2 separate regions of the Homo sapiens genome follow, and region 1 is linked to region 2. The links are contacts of gene promoters, found by promoter capture Hi-C in blood cells and fetal thymus (Javierre and others, 2016). All regions are on one chromosome and are shown on one strand. The core of a region is centred on a gene start or on the middle of the fragment in contact, and the rest is flanking DNA. Distances in the headings are between cores, read along the strand shown.

What was found. The method cuts DNA at HindIII sites, captures the fragments that hold promoters and counts their contacts. A CHiCAGO score of 5 or more calls a contact.
Region 1: a fragment that was not itself captured here is called in contact with the fragment with the promoter of SPATA13-AS1 in region 2 in 3 of 17 cell types (non-activated CD4 T cells, activated CD4 T cells and naive CD8 T cells); the score reaches 6.8 in non-activated CD4 T cells.

The regions. Positions count from the first base shown.
Region 1 is chr13:21,672,833-21,680,343 of GRCh38, forward strand. The region is part of intron 1 of FGF9 (fibroblast growth factor 9); the gene reads left to right. Among named protein-coding and RNA genes, the nearest start is that of FGF9, 5.5 kb to the left of the region's middle. RefSeq lists silencers at 835-1,054, 1,075-1,204, 2,615-2,664. The HindIII fragment of the contact is 3,279 bases long and covers 1-2,981 here.
Region 2 is chr13:24,252,301-24,259,350 of GRCh38, forward strand. It overlaps SPATA13-AS1 (SPATA13 antisense RNA 1), which reads right to left and starts at 2,139. Exons shown (of 3, transcript NR_046531.1): 1 at 2,036-2,139; 2 at 779-899; 3 at 449-656. The region is part of intron 4 of SPATA13 (spermatogenesis associated 13); the gene reads left to right. The HindIII fragment of the contact is 5,552 bases long and covers 1-4,690 here.

The DNA of each region.
Region 1 (7,511 bases), core at 92-2,591, 2.6 Mb before region 2:
TCCTTCCAGCTATCAAGTGATAACCTCTGCTTTTAAATTTCCATAGTGTGCAGCCCTGTGTAGGTCTCCTGCGTGGCTCTCTGGTGTGAGTGTGTGCGCGCGTGCAAACGCTGCGAGCGAATTTTAAAGGGCATTCCGAGGATTTCATTTTTCAGCGGAGGGTATTTGTGACTCAGCACTGAGGGCTGCAGACTCGAGGGCTGGTGGCTCTGCCCACTTTATGCTTGCACACACGTGCTTGCCGGGGCACCCTGAGCCCAACGGCACGAAGTCAACTAACACAGTCCCAATTGGGTGGACTCTTGAGTTTTTTCCTTACTTAAAAAAAAAAAAATAAGCGCCAGTTTGGGCAACTAGACTGTTGGAAGGAGTTAACTTCTGAGTGAACCCACCTGACAACACTTAAACTAGGTCGTAAAAAACAAAGTCCTCTGGTGATTTTTCTTCCTCATGCTTTAGTGCCAGATGTTGAACACAATCTAAACTGTATGTTTAGCTTCGTGCGGCTGCGGATGATGCCAGAAGGTGAGGAGGACTTAGGCCTGGGCTGGGGATGGTCCCAGATCCACGAGGCCCAGGATTTGCTCCTCATGCTCACCCCTGAGCCTAAGCCCACAGCTGAGCCTAGTAGTGTGAAATTGCTCCGGCCGTCTCCACTCGCTGCTTAAAAAAAAGTTATAGCTCTTTGCTTTGCAATTATTCAGTTGAAATATAACTATCCCCTCCCCACCCCAGAAGTAAAGGTAGATTCTGGTTGTTGCAAAGAGAAGACTAAACTTTACTAAAAGTGCCGTTTCCATCTGGCCTCTTTAAGGGCTGCCACCCTGCCTAGCGTTCGATACCAGAACAACAGGCAGTGGGCGGCCCTGGGTGGGCGAGCGAGCGTGTCCGGGGCCGCGGCGGCCACCCGCAGGGTGTCGGGGCCGCGCCGACCGAAGCGAGCGGCGTGGGCGGCCGGCCTAGGTGTGCCAGGCGGCCGGAGCTCCAGCCCTCCCGCGCTCGCGGTCGGCAGGTGCCCGCTCGGCCGCCCGGGCCCCGCGGCGCACTTAGCGGCTGCCCGGCCGGCTCCGCGCGGTCCTAAACGCGCTCGCGTTCCGGCTCCCTTTCCGCCTGGCTCGGGTGCGCCCTTCAGTGCTGCGGGGACCACGGGGGCCGGGGGGCGGCAGGCAGGGGCTGACACACTTCTGGCCGCGTTTAGGGAATCCGGTTTTTCATTTTGGCCCAAGTTGAGCCCCTTCGCTTTCTCTTTGTGTGTGAGAGTGGGTCTGGCGGGGCTGACAGCCGCCGCCCTGGGCTGCACGGTGGTTTGCGGTGTGGGAACGGCTGGAGGCGCGCGCAGCGGCAGGAGAGTTGGTGGCGGGGACAGAGGACGGGCTGGAGGTCGGACCCCTGAGCTCCCCTGTCCCATTCCGTGTCCTTCTTCTGAAGCACGCAGCCGGGTTTTGGAGACTCGAAGGGCTCCGTGGTGCCCGGGAGGTGGGTCGGGGGCCCCTGGCCGGAGCCGCAGGGAAAGGAGTGGGGGTGGGGGGGACAAAGGGCCGCGGAGGCGGGCGGAGGGGGCGGCGTGCTATTGTTAACCGCTTTCCGAGAGCAGAGCTCGCGAGCTCGCCGATCGCGATCTGGCTTTCCCGCGCCCCCGCCTCCGCTCCGGCTTCACAACCGGGGGAGCCCGGGGTGTGCGCGGGAGCGCGGCGGGGGCGCACGGCTGCAGGGGCGCCGCGGCGGGCCCGAGCCGGTTTTATTGTGTGGATCAGCCGAGCCTGTCTTTGAGAGACCCTATTAGAACTCCGGTGCAGCACGACTGGGCCCTGGTGTGCAGAGATTATGGGATATTCTAGTTGGCGCTTCTTCACGCACCCCTTCCCTCCATGAGCATTTTTTTTTTTTGATGCAGTCACCTTTAGGATAGGACGTTTGCCACATGCAGTCGAGTCATTAGAAATCCCGTAACTCTGCCACTGGAGAGAGCGCGGATGCAAGGGCGGGGGCCACGCGGGAGGGGAGGGCAGGAGAGGCGCATTCTAGGGTGAGCGGATGAGGACAGCGGCGGGCTACAGTGGCTCAATAGAAACCGTTAAACAAAAAGCTAGACCCCTCACCCCTAGAGGTCAGAGAAAGGTGTTGTCAGGGAAGTGGCATCTCCACTCCTTAGACGCTCTCGGTACAGTGTTGCGGGGGATGTGGGGGCTGGGGGGGATGTGGGGGCTGGGGGGAGGGGCTAGGGGTAGTGTTGGATGGGAGGGGAGCGGAAGCCCCGGCCCAGGTTGGGGACTGGGGGCGCCGAGCCGCTAGCTAGCCCGTCGGCCTGGCGTCGGCCGAGGGGGAAGGGCGCTCTGGCGCTCCGCTGTGCCACTCACTCTGGCTGGGATGGAGTTGAGTGGGTGGCTGTGCGCAGTGGGGGTGGGGAAGCAGGGTGAGGCAGGAGGGTTATTTAAGTCTTTCATCCGGTTGCAGTGAGAAGCGGGCCCCCGGGGTGACAGCAGTGCCGCGGTCTCCCGCTGCTGCCGCTGCGGCAGGTCCCAATATTAGCAACCTCCGCAGAGCGGTGGTGCGTGTGCCGGGAGCCTCCTACCCTCGCCTTCCCAGCCCCGCCCGGAACGAGGCCGCGGCGGCGCTAGGACACCGCGGCTCGCGCGGGGAGGGCGGAGGGAGGGCACAGGCGCCGGGAGGGGGCGAGGGGGCTGCGGTGCCCCGGCTCTGGCACACCTGGCGCTCCCGCGCGCCGCCGCGGCCTCACCTTCGGCCCTCCTCCTCCTCCGGCAGCAGCCTCTCCTCCGCAGCCCGGCTCCCCTCTGGGGAGTTCGTCCTCACACTCAGTTTCTCTAGAAAAGAGTAACTGTAGGTGGGGGGTGCGGTGGGTTTACACCTTGATTAAAATAGAAGGTGCATTTTCTACCTGAAATCAAACAGCAGAAGGAAACGCGCTGGAAAAAGGATTTTTGCCGCCCCCATGCAGCCGCAGGTGACTGCAGCTGCTGGCAAGCTTGGCAGTGACACAGCAGCAGCAGTGCAGAGGACGTGGGGGTGGGGGAGTCTTACTGTTCCAGCAGGAGCTGCAGAGGTGACAACTTAGGTGGGACCTTGAAGGAGCCTTTTTTTTTTTTTTTCCCCCTCGGATTGGTGGTGTGGAGATAAGATTGAACAAGGAGAAAAGGAACTCGCAATTGTATCTCTGTGCAGTAGGCTGGGGGAGCGAGATGTCTTGTTTCATCTGTATATCTATATGCCTATATATAGAGCTCACTTTTAAAGCACTCCAGCCTTGCTAGATGGATAGAAATGTGAGCAGAAAATCATTTGGGGAAATAGTAATGTAAAATAATAAAAACATGAACGCTGGGCCTGATCTGCTATTTAACTTGTTTAGGAAACCTAAGTCTGTTCCCTTTTTGGCTGGGGTTAGGTAGCTCTGAAAGGCCGGTCTTCATCAGGACCTCAGATGAGCACCCAAACTGGGGCTTCCATTCAAATTGGGTCAGGTGAAGGTTTTACTAGAGGGGAGAAATATGATAGTATGATTTTTTTAAACAGGTGTTTAAAACTTATTTCCAGGGTTTTGAACTTTAATTCTGTTCTATGTATCTGACTCTTCAATGTCTCAGGAAAACACTGGGTGTTTAAGGAGATGGTTTTAGGATTGCTTCAGGTTCTGGAAAAATTAGTGGAGTTATAACTCCCATTCAGTTAGTCATTTCCTATATAAACTCTATGAGATGTGCTCAGGTTGCTACAGATCCGAACTTACCCCGGTGCAGGATCTGAGATGGTTGATCTGGCAGCCCTGGTTCGAGCTTCTCTGGGTGAGCAGGAAGCTCTGCAGGGAAGAGGCTTAATCATTAATTTTCTGCAGCCTCATGCCCTGCCCCTCTCGACAGTCTGCCTACATTTGTGTGGTCTGAAGAGTGCGGTTCTGTAATGCGTTGGGGGCTCTTAAGCCAGAGAACCATGTCATGAGGGCCAGAGTGGAGCAGCTCTGACTGCCTTCCTCTCCCACTGCCTTGCCTGGCCTTGGAGGTGAGGCCCAGCACAGATGGGCTCTAGGGGGCGGTGCCAGCTTTGGGATAATGGTCCATGTGAACAGAACTGGGGCAGCCCATCAGCTCTGGGGATAGTCACTAATAGTGAGTCTGGGGCAATGAGGAAGGTCCGGTGTGGTGATTTTCCTGAAATAGTCCAGGCATTGACCTGGTCTCTCATGGACCATGGATGATCTCACACCTCATCAAATCCAATGGGGTCCCAATGAGCATATCCTCATTTGGAACTGTTGACTGCTGTGGAAGAGAACAAAGAAATGACAGCAGTCATCGACCCTGTGCTTCCCATGTCACCCTATCACTACCCATTACTGTGGGCCGTCTGAGCTAAGGATGTCAAGGCTGTGTCTGCCCAAAATGAGCGACAGGCTGCCATGGTACACATGTGTGTGCCACAGTTCTAATTTTAGGCACAAACTCATCATTCCCTCCCTTCCTCCTCCCCTCTTCCTTCCTTCTTTTCTTTGCTCTTTCCTTCTTTCCCTTTCTCTCTCCTTGATCATTAAACATTCAGATGTCTCTGCACAGAAGGCTTCTCCTGGCTGTTATTGATCCAGCCCCCTCTGCTGCCCAGTCATGTGAGCAGATAACATGTGGAGTGGGTTGTACTCAGGGAGTGTAGTTGGAAGCACTTGCCTGGCACCAGCTCCACCCCAGAGAGAGCTGAATGGACCTGGTTGAGGTTATAGAATTTATTGTGGACAAGAGGGTACCAGGAATGATGAGGTTTCTGGTCTGGTTGGGGTGGGATCCTGTTGCGGGGTTGCTAGATCTTCCTGACCTTACAACAGTGGAATTCTTTGCATGGGGGAGAATGACTGTGACTCCTACGTTCAGTTGGTCTGCTTGTCCTTGCATCACTGAGGTGACCACATAAAAAGCTGGGCTGTTATTTTGACGTCTCTATTTTTAAGGAACTGCGGAGAAATGGGTGGTGGTTTGAGGTGATGAAATCTTTTCCACCTGGGGTCTGTAGGTAGTTCCTTCTCGCTTGGATAGCTTTTTGGAGACTTATCTCAGGTATTTATTTTCTTGGGAAGCCTCTGACTTGCCTTCAGAAACCCAGATGAGCTGCCCATCTTTGGACTGCCCATACCCTGAACAGCTCCCTCTCAACTGCATTTGCCACACTGTTGTTATATTTATCTGTTTACGTGTTCTTCTTCCCAACAGATGGTGAGCAAAAATTTGAGGGTAATAGGACCTAGGCTATATCCGGTTCATCTTTATATACTCAATAAATGGTATGGTGCTTGGCTTATAATAAACCCTCAATAATAGCTTCTTGAATGAAAAAGTGAACGAATATGAATTACAGCTGTCTTGTCAATGCCAGAAAAAGAAACGAGATAGATATCTTGATATCTTCATTTCTAAATTATATAGTAATACTTTCAGAACTCAGCTATATGAAAATGGTACAGAAATCACAGAAACATTAAAAAAGGTAAAACCAAATGTAAGATGTGCATAATAGTTAAGGAAATAGGTTTTGGAGTCCAGTTGCTTGGGGGCTAATTATTAACCTCCTTAAACCTCAATTTCCCCATTTGTACACTGGGGATTAGAATATTGTAATGCCTAGAGTTGTTCTGGGGATTAAATGAGAGACGGCCTCTCATTTGGCATAGACTAAATGCTCAAGAATTTTTACTATTACAATTATCATTGCTGCTGCTGTTATTTTTTTTTCTTGATGTTCTGCAGACCAGCCAGTGAAAAGGTTTTGTGAAATCACATGCACCTTATTCTTTGTTGGACCTGATGGGCAACACTGGCTAATATTCATTATTAGTCCTCAGCTACTCCGTGTGCAGGGAAAGCAGAAAGATCATCACATGCTCCCTTAGAAGCTGCAAATATTTTTTAGTTTTATGATTAAACCTTTCCTTATTGACCTGGTAAATTAAATCATTCAGACCTCAAAAGGGGCCAAATGTTTCCTGCATTTCATCTTACGACGAAAATTGAACATTAATTAACTCATTACATTAATTTCAGGGTATGTATGACCCACATTTTGGTGTGCTTTCAGGTTACTAAGAAGATATTCACATACATGTGACTGCTAATAATAATAAAATGCCACAATTTTAGTTATTTTGACTCAGAAGAATAGTACAATGAAATAAAATGCATCAAAAAGGGAGTGCATCTCATGAAAAATGAATCTCATGGAAATATTGCCTTATTTATATTCCCATTTGCTTTTGAAGTAGGGAAGGCTAGTAATAAACTGGCTTCTTTTGCATGTATTCTCCATCATAGAGTCATAGATTATCAGATTCAAAACACAATTTGTAATTTCACTTTTTTTGATATACTGTTTAACATCCTATTAAAATAATTACATTAAGCACAAGATAAATTTGTTACATTTTGTCCTTATAAAAGAATTAGGAATGCCCCTTTAGAAGAAATAGCTCTTCTTTTTTACATCACCTTGAAATAGTTTCCTCTTGAGTTAATCCTTTATTAGATTTATGCTGTTCATGTCTTCTTTTGATTGCAGTACCAGTGTATTTTGTGAGAGTTGCAGAATTAATTGTTGAAAAATTCATGTAAGTGCTTTTTTATTAGTCACATGAGACTGACTATAGCACATTGTTACCCTAAGTTTTTTTCTGAACTCTTAAATGTAAGTAAAATTTTTAATATTTGAAAGTATTTTTAAAACAAGAACTCAATATTTGATATGCATTAATGTAAGGTCTACATAAAATGTAGCACTTTAATTTACAATAAAAAGGAAAAAATGGCTGAGTACAAATAATATTAGCAGTGTCCAGACAGGCGCGGTAGCTCACGCCTGTAATCCCAGCACTTTGGGAAGCCGAGGCGGGTCGATCACGAGGTCAGGAGATTGAGACCATCCTGGCTAACACAGTGAAACCCCGTCTCTACTAAAAATACAAAAAAAAAAAAAAAAAAAAATTTAGCCCAGCGTGGTGGCTGTCCCAGCCTGAAGTCCCAGCTACTCAGGAGGCTGAGGCAGGAGAATGGTGTGAATCCGGGAGGCGGAGCTTGCAGTGAGCCAAGATCGCACCACTACACTCCAGCCTGGGCAACAGAGTAAGACTCCATCTCAAAAAAAAAAAAAAAAAAAAAATTAGCAGTGTCCTAAATATACTGTGGGCTAATCATCTTATAACCACACTGTAGTTACAGAAATTGAAACTGCTGTTGTGTGGCCATAAAATTCTGGATTTATGCCCAGCTTAGGTGTTATTCTTAGTGAGGTAAGCAAGGGGAAAGAAGGAAGTAAAATAAGATCATTGTGTCGATTTGATTTTGGAATACAGCATTCCATGCCTACTTTAAATCAAGAGCAGTATTTATCTCTTCAGAATATTATTATTTTAATTGCTTAACTATCTCTTTGAGGTTTAGATAAGTATAGCAAAAACCAATACTTTGTTTAAGCAAAAATAATTGGGATGTATGTGGGCAGTTTTAGTTTTCTAGATAGAGTTA
Region 2 (7,050 bases), core at 889-3,388:
GGCATTCTCCCCTGTGTCTGTCTGTGTTCAGATTTCCCCTTTTTATAAAGACACCAGGCTTACTGCATGTGGGCCCAACTTAGTGACCTCATCTTAATGTGATTATCTACCTAAGACTATTTCCAAATAAGGTCACACTCATGGGTACTGGGGGTTAGGACTTCACCATCTTTTGGGGGGACACAATTCAATCAAAAACGTATACCATGTTTGTAACAATATGCAACGTGTACCCATATGGCAGAAGATTTTGAAAGAACAGGCAGAAATAACAGTAGCATTGTTAGGGTGGTAGGAATGTAGAGCACTTCTCCTCCCACCCCGTACCTGTGTACACACAGCCTTTCCCTGCTTTCTGTAACACTGGTTTTTGTTGTTATGTTAAAAATGTTTTAATTTTAGCGTTCTTTTGTCGAAAAGCAACAAAACCTAACTCTGGCTGTCTTAAGCAAAAAGGGAATTTATTGGAAGGGGGCCAGGTGTGCCCAGAATTGATGGGATGGCTGGGGAACCAGGCTAGGGAAGGGATGGCATCCAGGCTCACTCCTGGGAGTGGAGGAGCCACCGGAAGGTGTGTGATGGGAGACTGGCCATGGCACTGTCCCAGGAGCTAGTGAGGTATCCAGTGAGCACTTTATCTGGGTATCCAGTGAGCGCTTTGAAAATACAAAACATTTAATTAAAGACCCTATCTTGAAGAAGTGTATACTTATTTGGGGAGGAGTTATAATAAGGAGTTAACTTATTAGGAGTTAGTGACTGTCTTTCTGTCACTCACCCAGGGGTTCAGGTCCCAGGATGGAAGATTCAGCTGTCCGAGCTTAGGTGATATGTCCACCACCTGGTGGTACTGGAACAGGAAGAAGGGTGGGGTGTCTGTCTCCAGGGACCCTTGCCTTCTATATGTGAAGACAGGCCAAGTAAGTATTTAACAGAGCAGACAGTACTATAAAGAAAAATAAAACAGGATAGAGAGCATTCATTTCCAAAGAGTGTTATTCTAATGACACTCTAATGAACAGGATGCACCTGTTCCATGAACCCTCTCTCTCTTCCCTAGAAGGAGACACCCAGATCCTCATCAGTGGCAGCAGACACCTCCAAGTCTAGGACCTCTTAGGATAACTAGTCCTCCAGTTCCATGCAGTGCCTCTTCAGCGTTGATTAACTAGAGGCAGATTTAAGCAACACATCCCTACCAGAATGGCAAGGCAGGGAAAGGAAGGAAATAGAGAATTTGGGATGCTGTGGAGAATAAAACGTCATGCAAAGTTTACATTTCAGCATTTGAACAGATTCCATAAGTCAATATGTAGGATGCACCAAGGCACCAGTGACGGCCCTGCAGAAGATGACTTTGGGTAATGTGAGGAGTAGGAGCAGGTGGGGGAGATAGCCTCCTCTCCAAGGAGGTGACGCTGGGGACAGGTGAGTAGGAGGCAGTGAGGCAGAGATCCGAGGGAGGAGAAGTCCTAGCCGAAGGAGCACCAGAAGCCCAAAGACAGGCAGGAAACATGATGTGTCTGAGGTTCAGCAAGGAGGCCACAGTGACAGGAGCTCAGGGAGCAAGAGGCAGACGAGGATGTTGCAGGCTGGGAGGTGGGCTGAGGCTGGAAAGGGCTCTGCAGGTCATGAGGAGGCTGAGCTTGTTCTAAGTGTGGTGTGAAGCCATTGGCAGCAGGAGCATATTATGTTCCGGTTTATGCTTAGAGAGGGAGGGCAGTTTGTGGGGGGAAAGGAAGAGGAATGGAGATTGATTTGAAGGCGATTGCATTAGTCCATTTGAGAAATATGGTAGCAGTGACCACAAAAGCCATCCCCATTTTCCGTGGGTGCTCATTTTCCCAGTGGTACGAAGAGGCAAAAATGGCCAGCCTTGGTTCTGATTCACTGTGGCCAGGACTGTGAACTCTGGAGGAAGTACTTCTCCCTTGGGCACTAAATTCAGTTTCAACAGAGCAGAGTTCCTAGGTGGGAAGAAAACATTTTGCAAGTATATTATTAAGTAATCCTAAGAAGCCGCTTCTATGTTTACCCTTGGTTTCCGGCCCTGCATCTTCTGCTGTGGGCCAGCCTCTCCAAATTAGTCACTGCTTCAGAGCTTGCGTCCCATCCAGGGCAGTATGGCAACTTCTGGGTGTGTCTCCCAGCTGCCTCTGTAACTTCATTTTTATTTGGTTGTTATTGGGTGTGATGGGGTCATGTGCTTCCTTCTCTGTGACGTTCTGGGCCTGGATGGCGTGTGAGATGCTGCGACAGGATAGGGGCCTTCTAGAGGATCCACAGAGTGCAGGAAAACAAATCCAAGCCCAGCATAAGTGGCCCTTCCAGTAGGGACAAATCACCACCCCCTCTATTATGAAAAGGCCCCACTGCAATCAGCTTTCCGCAAGGGGCTGTCTGGTTCCTGCGGGGAACCGTATCATCAGCTTTGTTGAGGGGAAGGCCCAGACTTCCTGTGGTTTAGCCCAGGCTTGGCATCCATTTTTGCCACCATGGCCTTTTTCTTGCTTGCTTCTTTTTTTTTTTCCTTTTTATGAACCCACTGAGCAAGTATCAAGATGACTAGGAAGGAAGACTGGCATCTAGCTGCACATTGGGACAGCATGTCCACATGATGATTGATTAGCCTCTCTTGCAATAAGGATTCATGTAGGATGGACATCATCTCATGCTCTGCGGGTATTCTGAGGTAGCCAGTTATACTCCTTCCCCAAACCCATCCTCAGCCCATCTTGTTCTTTCCACATTCCTCCAGGCCATTCAGCCAGGCCATTAGCTCCTAACCAGGAGTGCGCACGAGCTAAATCCTTGCCTTGCCAAAGCCATCTCTCCTACTCAGAAAGGCTTGGGAAGAGTATTGCTTACATTTGCCGCCGGGAGTTTCCCTGTCCTGAGGACACAGTCACCAGGCTGATGGTAGGAGTTCTCTTTGAGAAGCTAGGAAGAAGACTTGTAGTAGGATGCCTACCCTGAGGCTCCCTGGCTCTGCTCCATCAAGAGGCCTGAGTCTGGGAGTTGAGTGAGGGCCCTCCCTTGTCTTCTCTGTCATGGTGGCTCAGGTCGGGCTCTGCTTGCCAGCCCTGGAGAGTTCCTCCTACACAATGTTGTGGTACCTTTGTGGAATCACTCATCTGTTTTGTTCCTGGGGACCCCGAGATCAGTTAACAGCACAACCAGAGATTTCACAGGTCAAACCATTCAGATGACCAAGCTGGCCCTGCTGTGTGGTATAGTAACTATGCCCACCTTTTTCCCATGACAGATGTCCCACCCCCATGGAGGACCAGGTTTGCATTGCAGTGGAACCATCTCTCAGCAGCATCTCTGGCCTAGAGAGATTAGCAGTACATTAATTATAAAAGCTGCTGTCACATGGGAGATGCAGCCCAAGGGGTGGTGAGACTCACATGATAGACCATCTCTAGCATTTCCATCCCAGTCCTGGAACTCCTTCCTTTCTATGCACTGAGGGTTTTAGGTTTATATACCAACGAAGTGCTAGAATGGCATCCAGCTCAGTAAGCCCACAAATTGAGCTCAGCAAACCAGCTGTAAAAGCATCATTTTGAGACACGTTGGGGAGATTTTCAGATGAACTGAATATTTGGCAACATGAAGGAATTATTTTTAATTTTGTTAGTTGGGATAAGATAGTGCAGTTATTTTTAAGTCCTTGTTTGTTATACACAGATAGTGAAATACTTTCTGCATAAAATATGATATGTGAGATTTGTTTTAAAATACTCCAAAAAAGTTGGTGGGAAATAGTTGAAACAATATTGGCAAAAGACTGATAATCGTGGGTTCATGGTATTATCTGCTTTTGTGTGTATTTGAAATTTTCTGTAGTATCAACTTTTAAATAATAATGAAAGTATATTTCTCCTCCCTGGTCAAGTATTCTCAAAATCTTGATAACCAAAGGTTGGTAAATGGATATAAAAATAGAGCTAGACAGGAAGAATAAGTCCTACTGTGCCACAGTTAATGACAATGTATTGTATAGTTCAAAATAGCTAGAAGAGAGGATTCAAATGTTCTTAATACAAATAAATGATAAGTGCTTGGGGTGATGATATGCTAATTACCCTGATTTGCTCATTCCACATTGTATACATATATTGAAATATCACACTGTACCCCATAAATATTGTACAATTATTATGTGAGTTTAAAATAATAATATAAAAAACTCTCCAAATTAAGTAGTATCCACAACTAAATTTTTCTCAAAATATAGAAAATTGAACATTGCATTTAATTTTTTTTTTTTTAAAGAAATGAAGGCAGAGTCTTTCTAGGTGAATGGAGCCCTCCCTTCCGAGAACTTGGCAGCGCCGTGCTGTGCTCTTCCTTTCTCTCACCACTTTTCTCTGGCCCTGTTTGTAGCACCTGTCTTACCTCTTGCCAGCCACACAGCCTGCGAAGGCAGGTCATGTGGGACAGGCCTGAGTCATGTTTGTAGGCTACTGGGTGTGTTATTTGGGATAATAGAGTTGGGATAATGAATTTCAGTGGCACTTATTGGAGCCTTATCGGAGGGAAGAGTGACAACCTGTAAACACCACTGCATTGTTGGGGATGGTGTTTGTGGCTTCACCTTCCTTGGGTTTCAGGAAGGATGCCCACACTGCTAGAAGATTTTCCTGGGGAATTATCTTTGCCGCCTTTGCTTTGCTTTCAGTGAAGCTTTTCTCTTTCATTTGAGACAACTTACTCCATCACAGCCTACCTAAGCTCCTAATTTTTTTGTACTTAACATTGGGTTCCAACCATACTTCTTCCTTTAACCGGTCTGTTTATGTTGATCAGAAGTCAAATTCGAGTGCTTTTCAGAATTCTTACTTTGAATTTCCCTTTGTCTCTATTATCCATTCCCCTTCTCTTTCTACGTATCTTGTCCAGAGTTCAGATTAGCTTGCTTTTCTTATCTTCCAGAGAGGAGAGTGTCCAGTTTACTTCGCTGTTAGACTTGAGTGGGAACTTCACAGAGACAAGCAAAGGACGAATGCACACCCGTGCACCAAAGTCAGTCGATATGGGTAGACCCCTTTCAAAAAAAGATACCTGGTCTGTTACATTTCTTGAAAGCCCTTTAGTTAACCAGTAAGTACACCGTATTAGAGCATTTAGTAATACTGCCAGATAATAAAAGAGGAAAGTCAAGATGAGGTACAATAATAGCTAGATATAAAAACTAGAGAAAATGCCCTTTTTGAGGGGACACAAACTTGGCAAGTTGACTTGCTTTAAAAAATGTTTCTAACTTACTGAAGTAATTGCTCAATTTGATTTTTTAAATTTTTACTTTTTTTTTTTTTGGCAAATATAGTTCTTTTTTTGCAAGCTAGAAAAGAGAAGCAAATTGACCCAGTCTAGCACTCTAGTGAGCTAGGCTGAGTCACTCATTCTTTATCAGAGTGATACAGTAATACGAATTGCTAGCAGGCAGGTTGTAAAACTAAATCATAACCACCTATCCACATTTTTCATTAGGAAACAACCAAAAATTGAGTCCTTTAAAGGCAGGTTATAAATAAATAACATCTTGATCTGTGAAGGGGACAGCATGACCCAAATTTTATGCCAACCAGCCTGTCTGAGAAGCCCATCTGAGCTGGCCAGTGAGTGGTGAAGAGAGGAGTGCTTTTGAAAACGTGCTCTGAAACGATAAGAATTCTGGATTCTGGGCAGGTGTGGTGGATCACCTGAGGTTAGGAGTTCAAAACTAGCCTAACCAACATGGTGAAACCTCATCTCTTTCTCTACTAAAAATACAAAATTAGCTGGGTGTGGTGGCGCATGCCTGTAATCCCAGCTACCTGGGAGGCTGAGGCAGGAGAATTGCTTGAACACGGAAGATAGAGGTTGCAGTGAGCCTACATTGCGCCATGGCACTCCAGCCTGGGCAACAAGAGTGAAACTCTATCTCAAAAAAAAAAAAATAAAAAGAACTCTGGATTCTGCCTGTCAATAAGAAAGCAAGTAAAAAGTGTCACAGATGTGTGAAATTGGTCCTTGTTTATACCGGAGTTTACCATGAGAATGAAGAGTTCATCTCAAAAAAAAAAAAAAAAAAAAGGCCAGGCACGGTGGCTCATGTCTGTAATCCCAGCACTTTGGGAGGCTGAGGTCGGCAGATCACTTGAGCCCACAAGTTTGAGACCAGCCTGGCCAACATGGCAAAACCCCATCTCTACTAAAAATACAAAAAAATTAGCCAAGAGTTGTCGTGCGTTCCTGTAGTACCAGCTACTCAGGAGGCTGAGATGGGAGGATTGCTTGAGCCTGGGAGGCAGAGGTTGCAGCGGGCCAAGATCGCACCACTGCACCCAGCCTGGGCAACAGAGTGAGACCTCCTCTCCGCTAAAAAAAAAGAGAGACTGAAAAGTTAGAGATATGAGTGAGGAATAAGATACTTAAATTTTGAAAATAAATGTCTTAGTGATAAATCCAGCATGCTACATTTCCCCTTTTACCACAAGAACAAACAAAGGACTATTTTAAAAGAAATGCTGAGTTCTAAACAGAACACTTTCTACCACAGAAACAGGTCCTCTTCCCCGTACGATCAAGGTTACTGCTCTTCCACTACTCAGGTCCACGTCAGGAGCTTTGTCAGGGCAGGAAATTCATAAAAGGAGAGCATATCCTAGCTAGCCACTGGGGAGCAAGGTTAGCATCCTTGGGGTGGACCATCCATATGGGTAAGCTGTAGTTTTGATAAGAATCTGCAGGCTGCCCGTGAGCATCTCGTCTCATGCCTGGCCTTGTGCACTCTGAGCTGGGTGCTGGGCCTCCCAAGAACCCCTGGGGCCCAACAGGCACGTGCAAGTGACCCTGCAGGAATGCTGCTACCTCCTTGCTAAGCCCAAGAGAACGGGGAAGACCACAGCTCCCAAAGGTCTTAGGGAGTCTTATGGGGGCTCTTCTTGTGAACAGATCAGTGCATCTTTCTGCTGCTGTCTGCAGGGAGGGGGCAGAGCAAGGGGCTTCCACCCACGTGGCCGCCAAGTGGAGCCATCCCCACCTGCCATCCCCAAAACA